Linked DNA regions of Homo sapiens: all the other regions are linked to region 3. Evidence: promoter capture Hi-C in 16 types of primary human blood cells and fetal thymus (Javierre and others, 2016). All regions are on one chromosome and are shown on one strand. The core of a region is centred on a gene start or on the middle of the fragment in contact, and the rest is flanking DNA. Distances in the headings are between cores, read along the strand shown. Region 1 overlaps LOC107986129 (a long non-coding RNA gene). Region 2 has its middle 7.7 kb from the start of MGLL. Region 3 holds the start of PODXL2 (podocalyxin like 2).

Region 1 (3,572 bases), core at 171-2,670, 220 kb before region 3:
CCTATCTAGTCAGGAGGCTGAGGCAAGAGAATCACTTGAACCTGGGAGGCGGAGGTTGCAGTGAGCTGAGATCACGCCAATGTACTCCAGCCTGGGCGACAGACCAAGACTCCGTCTCAAAAAAAAAAAAAAAAAAGAAATAGGATTGATCACTTCATTAAGGTATCAGTAGAGGTAGAGATGCAAAGAGCCCTCCCTCTTTGCAAGAAACCAGGCTTTTAAATCCTTTCTTGCATTGTAGTTTCTATCCAAGTGCTGTGCACATAGTAACTGACAGTCAAAATAGAAGAAAAGCAAATATCTGTTGGGCTTTCTCTTTTTTTTTTTTTTGGAGATGGAATCTCGCTCTGCCACCCAGGCTTGAGTGCAGTGGTGCGATCTTGGCTCAGTGCAAGCTCTGCCTCCCAGGTTCACACCATTCTCCTGCCTCAGCCTCCCGAGTAGCTGGGGCTACAGGCACCCACCACCACGCCCAGCTAATTTTTTGTATTTTCAGTGGAGATGGGGTTTCACCATGCTAGCCAGGATGGTCTCGATCCCCGACCTTGTGATCCGCCCGCCTCAGCCTCCCAAAGTCTGTTGGACTTTCTCTACAGGTCACATATAATATCTCACTTAATTCTGTCAACCTGAGAGTCATCCTTATCCCCATTTTACAGATGAGGTAGTTGATGCTGAGAAAGATTAGGTGGCACCCTAAGAGGTATACTGGGAGTCAGACGCATGATCTGTGTCATTTCCCTGCCCTACCCTAACGAGAAGTCTGTTCCCATCTCCTTAGTCTGGGGCAGTGGAAATGGTGCCTGACTTGTTTCTGTAAACTTTGGCAATGGGAATACCCTGGGACTCTAAAAACCTCCACTGGCCAGACATGGTGGAAAGTGTCTTTAAAACCATGTCAGAGCTCCTGTTTCCAAAGCAGATGTTTGGGTCAGCGCTCATTTATTACTTGCTGACATCGAGTAACCTCTTAAATCCTGAAAATTCTAGTTTTGAGAAATCAGACTGTCACTAACAAGTCAGCATGTCAGAATAAATAAAGCAGAAAATTGAAGCACGTTATGTTGGCTTTCCCAAAGGCATTCTAGAGATCACTAATAGAGCACTCAAAGGCACGAAAAGGCGGGGCTGCTCATGGCCTCTTGGCATCCCAGCTCCCTTTCTTTCACATGGAAATAGGACCTCCCATTTTTAGCTGGGCAGATGGCTGCCCATATGGCTGCCCAGAATAAGAACTACATTTCCCAGCCTTCCTTATAGCCAGGCTCCATCATGTCGGCACACCATGTGAGCCACATGTACAATTCCCAGCTACATCCTTAGAGGAAAGAGGCCTGTCCTCCCTCTCCCCCTTTCATCTGGAGCATAGAAGGTGGACGAGGTGAAGACTGTATTGTAAATATAGCAATGGTGGAGGTGAATAGGGAATGCCTTGTGACTAGGGACATGGCTGGGTGGAACACAGATGTGCAAGGGTGAGTGAGCCCCACATGGGACCATGTGGATGGGGCCGTGTCCTGGGATGGCTGAAGGAGCTGGGGTTTCTCGCTGAAAAGCCTCTTACCAGCCCTGAACTGCTCATGCCCATACTATTATGTAAGAGAAATACACATCTTTCTTTCTAAAGCCACTCTGATTTGGGAACATTGTTTAGGACAGCTGAACCCATGTCCAAACTAATACCCCAGGCCAAATCAACTTCATCTTCTCCCAACTGTCCTAGTCCACTTACACTGCCATTCTAAGCACAGCTGGCACCTCCACACATGCTTTTGCTGATGAGCCTTGCATAGGCCATTTCCTCTCTTCCCCTCTCTTCCTCTGCCTGGTAAACTCCTGCTCAACCTTCCACGCTCCACCCAGATACCCACTCCTCCTGGAGCCTTCCCTACCTCCTATCCCTTGCCAGGCAGGATTCATTACTTCCTCCTCTTTGAGCCTATATGAAACTGTCTGTAGCTCTCTTAGCATTTACCCTGTGGTGCCCTAATTATTCGCTGCTGTGTTGATCTCTCAAACTAGACTGAAGTTTCCTTAGAATCAGGGACCTAATTTCCTGCAGGTTTGAATCCCCAGCACTAACTTTGTAAAAGGCACTAGGAAATCTTTGGTGACTGGATGAATGAACACAGATGATATAATTACATGTGTACCCATACAGATCCTCATTCTTTTAAAAAGTGTTTCCTTCTTTGCTAAGACAACACTTGTGAATAGCACACCCATTCCTCCTACAGAAACTCAACGAGCACAAATCTACTATTACATAATACATAAGCCAGGGGATTCATTATACATTGCGTGAAAACCTGCTTTGCAGATTTGTCAGGTCTCCTTAACAAAACAATCCTGCCATAGACCCACCCGCTCTGGTATTGCAGCGACTGCAGGATTTTAAATCAAAGGCTTTTCTCAGTCTCTCTCTGTCTTCTTTCAGCTCAGAGCAGGCAATCTGGACTGCAGTACTAGCAGTTTCCAGAAAATGCTCAGGCGTGCTCACAGCTAACAAAGAGATGAGCGCTATTTCCTGCCCTGGAACGCTGGAGAGTTCAAGGGCTTCTGAGGCTAGAGTGTTCTGATCCAGTGAGTGTCATGCTTTGCTTTGATTCTGTGTCAGATATCACACCAACTCCAGCAAGTCTGCAGGTGCATTTTATACTAATTTTGTACTAACACTAATATTGTTATTCAAAATTAATTTTCCCTGTCTAGAAATATAATTCTAGCATTTTCTAGGTTTTGACACAACTTGTATGCAAGTCTTAGAACCCTTCCATGCCCATGGCACGCTGCTGGATGTGTCTCAGAACTCATCTGGAAACCCTCTGGGACTGAATCTGCCCCATTTTAAACACTCCTGTAGATGGCCTCTCTGTTCTCATGTTGAGCATGGATTTTATTTTTATGGAGATTTATCTTAAATATCCTTAATTTGTAAATATCCTGAAATTATTCTCAGAAAAAAATCCACTGTCTAGCTCATCCCTCTAACTGAGGATTTTAAAAATTAACTGAGAACACGGATTCCCTTCTCTGGGCATGCATTACTAAAGTCCATAGAATGCCTATATTATCCATTTATGTGCTTTTTGCTTAATTTTCTGTCTCCTTGAGCTAATACATAAGCTTCAATAAGAGTGGGCGCCTGTTCATTCTCGCTGTATCCCCAACACCTGGCACGTGGGAGGCACTGGATGGATCTGCAGAGTGAATGCATGATTGTGTCTTCTTGTGTAGATGCCTTTGCTGCCTCAGGTGATCACTTGAGTGGGCCATGCCTGGGCTATTGGAAAAGCAAGGCTTGTTTTGAGTGCTTGTCGCCCTGCTGTCTTCACTCCTCCTCCTTCCCTCTGTCAAGCATGTGGCACCAGGCTGACCCCCAGGCCTCTGCTCTTGCCATCAACACATGCTGTCTCCCCTTATGGTTCAAGATTTTTGTTTTGTTTCCCTGATTTCTTTCAAGCACCCCCTCAGGTTAATTAGATTAACTAATTTGTCCATAAGATGGATCATTTTGAATGCCTTAAATACTTTGGACAAAAATTAAGATTGGCTGGGTGCGGTGGCTCACG
Region 2 (3,584 bases), core at 745-3,244, 200 kb before region 3:
ATATTGCCAGACCTTTGGCCTTTTACACAACCAGCATTGCTATGTGAAATGCCCTGATTTTCAGAAATTGGCTACTAATTCAACCAAATATCAATAAAGCACTGTGCAGGTCAAATCTCCTGCTGACCAGGTGCAGTATGCAGGCTGCCAGGTCACACCTCTACCTGCCCACTCTCCTGGGTCAGCACACTCTCCCCCACAGCTGCAAGGGCCATTTCCGGCCAACACCCACATCTCTGTCTCCGGTCTGACCTTCTTCTTCAGCTCTAGATCCTCAAATCCATCTGCCCCTGCAGGCACCTCATGCTCAACCCATCATCCAACACTAACAGTCCAGTGTAACCATATCCCTCTGCTCTTTGAGAAAAGCTAGGAATCTGGATTTGCATGTGAAATCACCAATTTTTAAAACTCACATTAAAAAAACCATTTCAGATATAGAAATACTTTTTAATGGGTCAGACTTAACATGAAGGCCCCCAAGCTGCCACCCCTGACTTAATACAAGCTGACTAGCCACCAGGCACCATGCTGATGTTCAGTCCATCTTAACCAAGGCCCTAGAGGGGGTATTCCTATCCACATTCCCCTGTTTCAGGTGAGGAGGCAGGCTTAGCAAAATAGAGTAACTCACCAGGAAGTAGCACCACTAGTCAGTGGAGCTTGCTTCTGAGGCTTAGGTATTTTTGCCCAACTTTATTTCCCCTTAAGTTTGATAGTACAGTCTTGCTTTTCCTCTATCATTCATTTTCAGTACCATTTCCATTCCCAACCTCCACTCCTTTCCCATTAGAAGTGGTTTATAATTGAAGTATACAACCACCCAAATTCTTGTGCAATATCACATACACTAAAACTGCTAATAAGAGAAACTCTTGGTCTTCTTACTATCTCCCGGCTTGCTCTTTCTCCTTTTCTCTTCACAGGTATTTCCAGTATGTTCTACTCTCCTCAAACCTCAGAGCATCTCTGAAGGCCACACAAGAACATTTGTGTTTTAGCCCATTCTCATGCTGCTATAAAGAAATACCTGAGACTGGGTAATTTATAAAGAAAAAAGGTTTAATTGGCTCATGATTCTGCAGGCTATACAGGAAGCATAGTGGCTTCTGCTTCTGGGAGGCCTCAGGAAACTTTCAATCATGGCAAAATGTGAAAGGAAAGCAGGCACGTCCTACACAGCCAGAGTAGGAACAAGAGAGAGAGGGAAAGGTGCTACACACTTTTAAACAACCAGATCTCACGAGAACTCACTCACTATTACCAAGACAATACCAAGGGGGATGGCACTAAACCATTCATGAGAAATCCATTCCCATGATGCATTCACCTCCCACCAGGCCCCACCTTCAACATTGGGGATTACAGTTCAAAATGAGGTTTGGTGGGGACACAGATCCAAACCATATCAACTTGTAGGGGCAGAAAGACGTCACCTTTACTTGAATTGCAACCCTTACCTTTTCATCGCAGGCTGTAGGAGCAGAGCCTGACAACCAGCACTTGTCTTGGAGATCACTGCATCTAGAATAATCCTGCCCTAGAGATCTAGGTGGACACACAGGCAAGTAGGGGCCTGGTGGCCCACTGATTTCCCTACTGAAATAAAAAGCCAGATACAAGACTTCTACATCTGCAAAGGTGGAGTGGATGTGCTTTTCCCTACTTTTCCCACTAAATATGACTAAAAACCCTGGACATTATGTATACAACCAACGTAAGAGGATGCTGAAAGGAAGAGATAAAAGGCAAACCTGCTGGGGACCTCAGGACCTGAGGAACAACATGGTGGTGAGTTCCCTGGGTTTTTTGTTTTGCCTTATACATTTGTGACTCTAGAGAAACACAGGTAAAACAAAAGGTTTAAATCAGATCCAGAGTCTGATGACATAATACAAAAATGACCAAGTTTCAATAGAAAATCATTTATCTTATCAAGAACCAGAAAGATCTAACACTGGATTAGAGAAGACAATATATACCAACAGGAAAACAAACAGATTTTTAAAGCAGTCACAATAAAAGTTCTCCAACAGGCAATTATAAACATGCCTGAAACAAATGAAAAATAAAAAGTCTTGGCAAAGGGATAGAAATTCTTAGCAAAGAAATAGAAGATATAAAGAAGAACCAAATGGAAATTTTAGAGTTGAAAAATACAATAACTGAAATAAAAAGCTCAATGGATGAGCTCAAAGGTGAAATAGAGGGAACAGTGCAATAAGCTGGAACATAGGACAATAGAAATGACTCATCTGAATAACAGAGAGAAAATAGGCTTAAAAAAAAAACCCACAAAAAAAAAACCAAAATGAACAGAGCCTTCAGGGACCTACGGAACTATAAGAAAAGCTCAAATATTCATGTCATCAGAGTCCAAAAGGAGAAGAGAAAAGAGGATGAGGCTGAAAAAGTACTCAAATAAGTAATGGCTGAAAATGTCTCAAATTTGGCAGGAGACAAAAAAAAACTATAAATAAAAAAGCTGAATGAATTCCAAATAAAATATACCCAAAGAAACCCATACCAAGAAACATCATAGTCAAACTTCTGAAAACTAAAGACAAAGAAAAAAATCTTGACAGCAGGGAAAGATAAATTACATGTTACCTATAGGTAATTTCCTTATAAGGAAAAAAAATTTGAATGACAATGGATATCTTATCAGATAGCATTAAGGCCAGAATGTAATGGTATGATATTTTTCAAATGCTGAAAGAAAATAATTTTTAATCCAGAATTCTTTATGTAGTGAAAATATCCTTCAGGAATGAAGGGGAATCAAGACATTCTCAGATAAAGCAAAACTAAGAAAATGTTGCCAGCAGACCCATCCTCAAAGAATGGCTAAAGGAATATATCTAAACCAAAAAGAAATGATAAAAGAAGAAACCTTGTACTATCATGAAGAAAGAACACAGTGAACAAAACTATGGGCAAATAAAATAGACTTTTATTCTCCTCTTTTCTAAATTATATTTGATGATTGAAGCAAAAATTTTAATACTATCTGATGTGAATCTCAGAGTATGTAGAGAAAATAGTTAAGGCAATTAGAGTATAAATGGTGCAGAGTAAAGGGACATAAGAAGATGTTAGGTTTTTATATTGCATAAGAACTAGTAAAGTGGCATCAGTAAGCTGTGATACATAAAATGCAGTACATAGAGCAACCACTAAAAAGTCTATACAAAGAGATTCACTCAAACACAGTATAAATAAATAAAACTGGAATTTAAAAATGTTCCTGGCCAGGCCTGGTGGCTCATGCCTATAATTATCCAGCACTTTGGTAGGCCAAGGCAGGCAGGCTCAGAGCCTAGGAGTTTGAGACTAGCCAGGGCAACATAGTGAAACCCTATCTTTGCCAAGAAAAAAAAAATTAGCTGGGCACAGTGGTACACATCTGTAGTACCAGCTACTCAGGAGGCTGAGGTGGAAGGATGACTTAATCTAGAAAGTTGAGGCTGCAGTGAGCTGTGATTGCATCACAGCACTCCAGTATGTGCAACAGAGTGAGACCCTGTCTCAAAAACAAAATAAAACAGGCTGGGCCTGGTGGCTCATGCCTGTAATCCCAGCAC
Region 3 (3,189 bases), core at 144-2,643:
CTCAGGCAAAGACTGTTCCTCCCTTCCCATAGAGACCCTTCACTAGTTTCTCTTTCACTCACACACATCTGGACACAAAGTGCCTGTGTCTTCATGGGCCAGCTGCGTGGGAAATGTCCTGTGCACACTCCTACATGCACATACACACTCCTACATGCACATACACACATCATACTAGGACGCTATTTTGACGTGTGCATCAGAAGTGAAGTTACAGCTGGCTGATGAGTGTGCACAGGCACACATGCACACTTCCTCATCCGGGTATTCCTCCAGCAGCACCAGTCACACCTTAACATACACCGTAACACACTCCCTCTGCTCTGCCAGTGTGTGCAGGAGCTGCTCAGCTATGACCTTATTTGACCCACCTTTGCAGACAGCCCTTCTCCCCGCCATTTCCATAGTGGCCGCCTGCCTCATGGGCTGTCACACCCCATGCCCACCTCCCTACACACCCCCTCCACTAAATCCCCGTCTGCGCTGGAAGCCATCAGGAGGCCCGTCTCTTTCTCTCTCAGGCAGACACATCCCTTTCACACCTGTGCCACACCCCCAGCCCGCCACGCACCCACACAGCCCGCCGCCCGGCGTGGCTGCTGAATGGAAACCACACATCTGAGTCTCACACCTCCCTCGTGTGTGAGCTGCGTGGGAGCCTCCCGCCGTGTGCTGTCACGGGCCTTCCGTGGCTGTACGCCCGTTTTTGTCAGCTCCTAATAGAGTCGCCCAGAACAGGAGAGAATACCCATTCACCGTGACACACTCACACTCCCTCCCGGCAACGCCACGCGTAAACAGCCACCCGCGCCTCAGCGTACCCGCCCCACACTCCGCAGGCGGCCCCTGGGACCTTCACAATGCGGCCTCCTCCCCGCGTGGCTGTCACACACGCCTCTTCCCCCGAGTGCGCAGGCACACAATGCACTCGCACACACACAAGCACACGCACACACATGCACACCCACACGTGCGCGCCCCCCCGGCCCGCGAGGCAGCAGCCTGCGCACCTGCCCCTGAGAGCCGCGGCGTGGGGGCCACGGTGCTGTGTCCCAGCTTCACCGCCGCGCCTTTGTCGGGGGTCGCCCGGCACGCCAGGCGCCCGCCGCGGCCCCCACGCACCCACTCCTCGTGCGCGTGTGTCGGGGCGGCGCCGCGGCCCGGCCGGGACACGCGCGCTCCCGGCGGCGCCGCACTCTGGCCCCTTTGTTGGCGGCCCGGGGAGCTGTCCAGCACCGCGCCCACGCCGCCGCCCGCCCTCCCGCGCTCGGGCCCGGAGCGCACTCACCCCCAACCAGCAGAAGCAGCAGCGGCGAAAGCAGCGGCGGCAGCCGGGCGGCCCGCAGCAGCCGGCCCATGGTGTAGCCGTCGCCGCCTGCAGCCGCAGCGGCGCGGCGCCCGGGCCCGCGTCAGGGGCCGCGCGGGCGGCGGCGGCGGCGCGCGCCCGCCCCATTGGTCCGCATGGCCGTCACTCACGCCCGGCCCCGCCCGGCCGCGTGCCGCGGGCGCGCCCCCGCGGAGACGAAGCGGACGCGCGGGCGGCCGTCCCTCCGCCCGTCCCCCCCGCCAGGCCGGCCAATCAGCACCGCCGAGGCTCGGGGGCTTGGCCCGGCCGCCCGCAGACCTGGGCCTCGCACCTCGCGCCCGGATGCCGCTCTCTCCCCGCGCGGTCACCCGTTCCCTGGGAAGCAGAGTGGGCAGCTGTGGCAGATGGGACTGATGGGACGAGGACGACGCGTGGAAATGACTGTGAGGGTGGACAGAGGCCTGGGGTAAGGAAAGACTTCTCAGGGTACTTAGATTGGGTGAGCCCTGAAGGAGAACCTGAGAGCAAAGAACTGGACTTTAGAGCTAGGCAGTCTGGCTCAGGATCAGATTGGTTCCGAGACCTTGAGTAAATCTCTTCTCACCTCTGGGCCCCACTTGCCCCATTTGCTAACTGGGGGGTTTTAGATTATGAGAGAGGTGCTGACTTCTCTAACATGTGCTCCCTTTTGGCAACTGAAGATCCTTAATATGCCAAGCACTGTAGTGGTAAATAAAACAGGCACATCCCTCGTCCTCATAGTTTAGGCTCGTAGAGAAAACAGACTGAAAAACAAAATGGACACACATATGGTCCTATGATTGCAATTGGTAGTCGGTCTGTTAAGGAGTATAAGGGGCTAGGAGACAGCACAGAGGGGAACCTTATGCTTGCCTTCCTGAAGAAACAGCATTTAAGGTAAGCTGGCTGGCATCTGGAAGGATGAGTGGGTATTAGGTAGGAGATTGGGTTTGGGAGAGAACTTACAAGGCAGAGGGAAAAGCTCACTGATAGAGTTCCTGAGTTAGAAAGAAGCTCAGCCTCTTTTAGGGAGAGAAAAACCCCGACTACCCTTTTAGAAGTACTGCAGCTTAAATATACAGCAACCACAATTTTGTGGAATGTTACTTTATATATACCATATTAGGAAAACACTTCTTTAAAATAACAAATCGTTATTTGAATATGCTTTTTCAAAGTATATCCCCACCCCCCTATGCAGGGGTATAGCATCAGACATTGGAGATAATCTCACGGGACTCTTCCAGACTAAATATTAATACTTAGGAGAAATAGGAGTTGGGGTGGAGGAGCATAGGGAAGAAATGGGTTCCAGACAAAAGAAAGAACATGAGCAAAATGTAGCACCTTTTATTTGGTGGGTGTTAGGGGTACTAGAAAAGTGGCTGTCAGCTGGGCTTGGAAAAGAGAAATCCAGGGTGTGTCTAGACCCAGCTTCCCTCTTCTTTCCTCCTCTGAGGATGAAAGGAGCATCCCTTTGGTTTTTTGTTGTGTTTTGTTTTGTTTTTCTGTTACAAGAAACAAAGATCTTAGAAGCAAACAAGAAATGGAAGGAAACGTCCTCAATTCCATTAAGGGTATCTCCCAGAAACCTTTATTATCATACTTAATGGTGAAACCATACTTAATGATGAAACATTAGAAACATTCTCTTTTAAGTGAATGGAACAAAATAATCCTCACTACCACCACAATGATTGAATATTCTATAAGAGACACTGCAACAAGGCCTGATAGAAGAAATGGGATGAAAGTATTGGGGGAAAACTCATTATTTGCAGGTTTATCTAGAAAATGCAAGATCATCAGTTGGCAAAATAATTGAAAACCAATGAGTTCAGCAAGATTGCTGAATAAAAGAT

What was found. The method cuts DNA at HindIII sites, captures the fragments that hold promoters and counts their contacts. A CHiCAGO score of 5 or more calls a contact.
Region 1: a fragment that was not itself captured here is called in contact with the fragment with the promoter of PODXL2 in region 3 in 1 of 17 cell types (neutrophils); the score reaches 5.4 in neutrophils.
Region 2: a contact is called between a fragment that was not itself captured here and the fragment with the promoter of PODXL2 in region 3, in 1 of 17 cell types (neutrophils). The highest score is 8.9, in neutrophils.

Annotation. Positions count from the first base shown.
Region 1 is chr3:127,847,225-127,850,796 of GRCh38, reverse strand. The region is part of intron 4 of LOC107986129 (a long non-coding RNA gene); the gene reads left to right. All of the region lies in intron 1 of LOC105374096 (a long non-coding RNA gene), which reads right to left. Among named protein-coding and RNA genes, the nearest start is that of MGLL, 26 kb to the right of the region's middle. The HindIII fragment of the contact is 3,417 bases long and covers 1-3,128 here.
Region 2 is chr3:127,828,388-127,831,971 of GRCh38, reverse strand. No RefSeq gene overlaps it. Among named protein-coding and RNA genes, the nearest start is that of MGLL, 7.7 kb to the right of the region's middle. The HindIII fragment of the contact is 9,678 bases long and covers 1-3,584 here.
Region 3 is chr3:127,627,389-127,630,577 of GRCh38, reverse strand. It overlaps PODXL2 (podocalyxin like 2), which reads right to left and starts at 1,393. Exons shown (of 8, transcript NM_015720.4): 1 at 1,289-1,393. The coding sequence starts at 1,358. It overlaps LOC107986126 (a long non-coding RNA gene), which reads left to right and starts at 1,615. Exons shown (of 2, transcript XR_001740892.2): 1 at 1,615-1,772. RefSeq lists an enhancer at 691-750 and silencers at 1,151-1,280, 1,391-1,460. The HindIII fragment of the contact is 9,170 bases long and covers 1-3,189 here.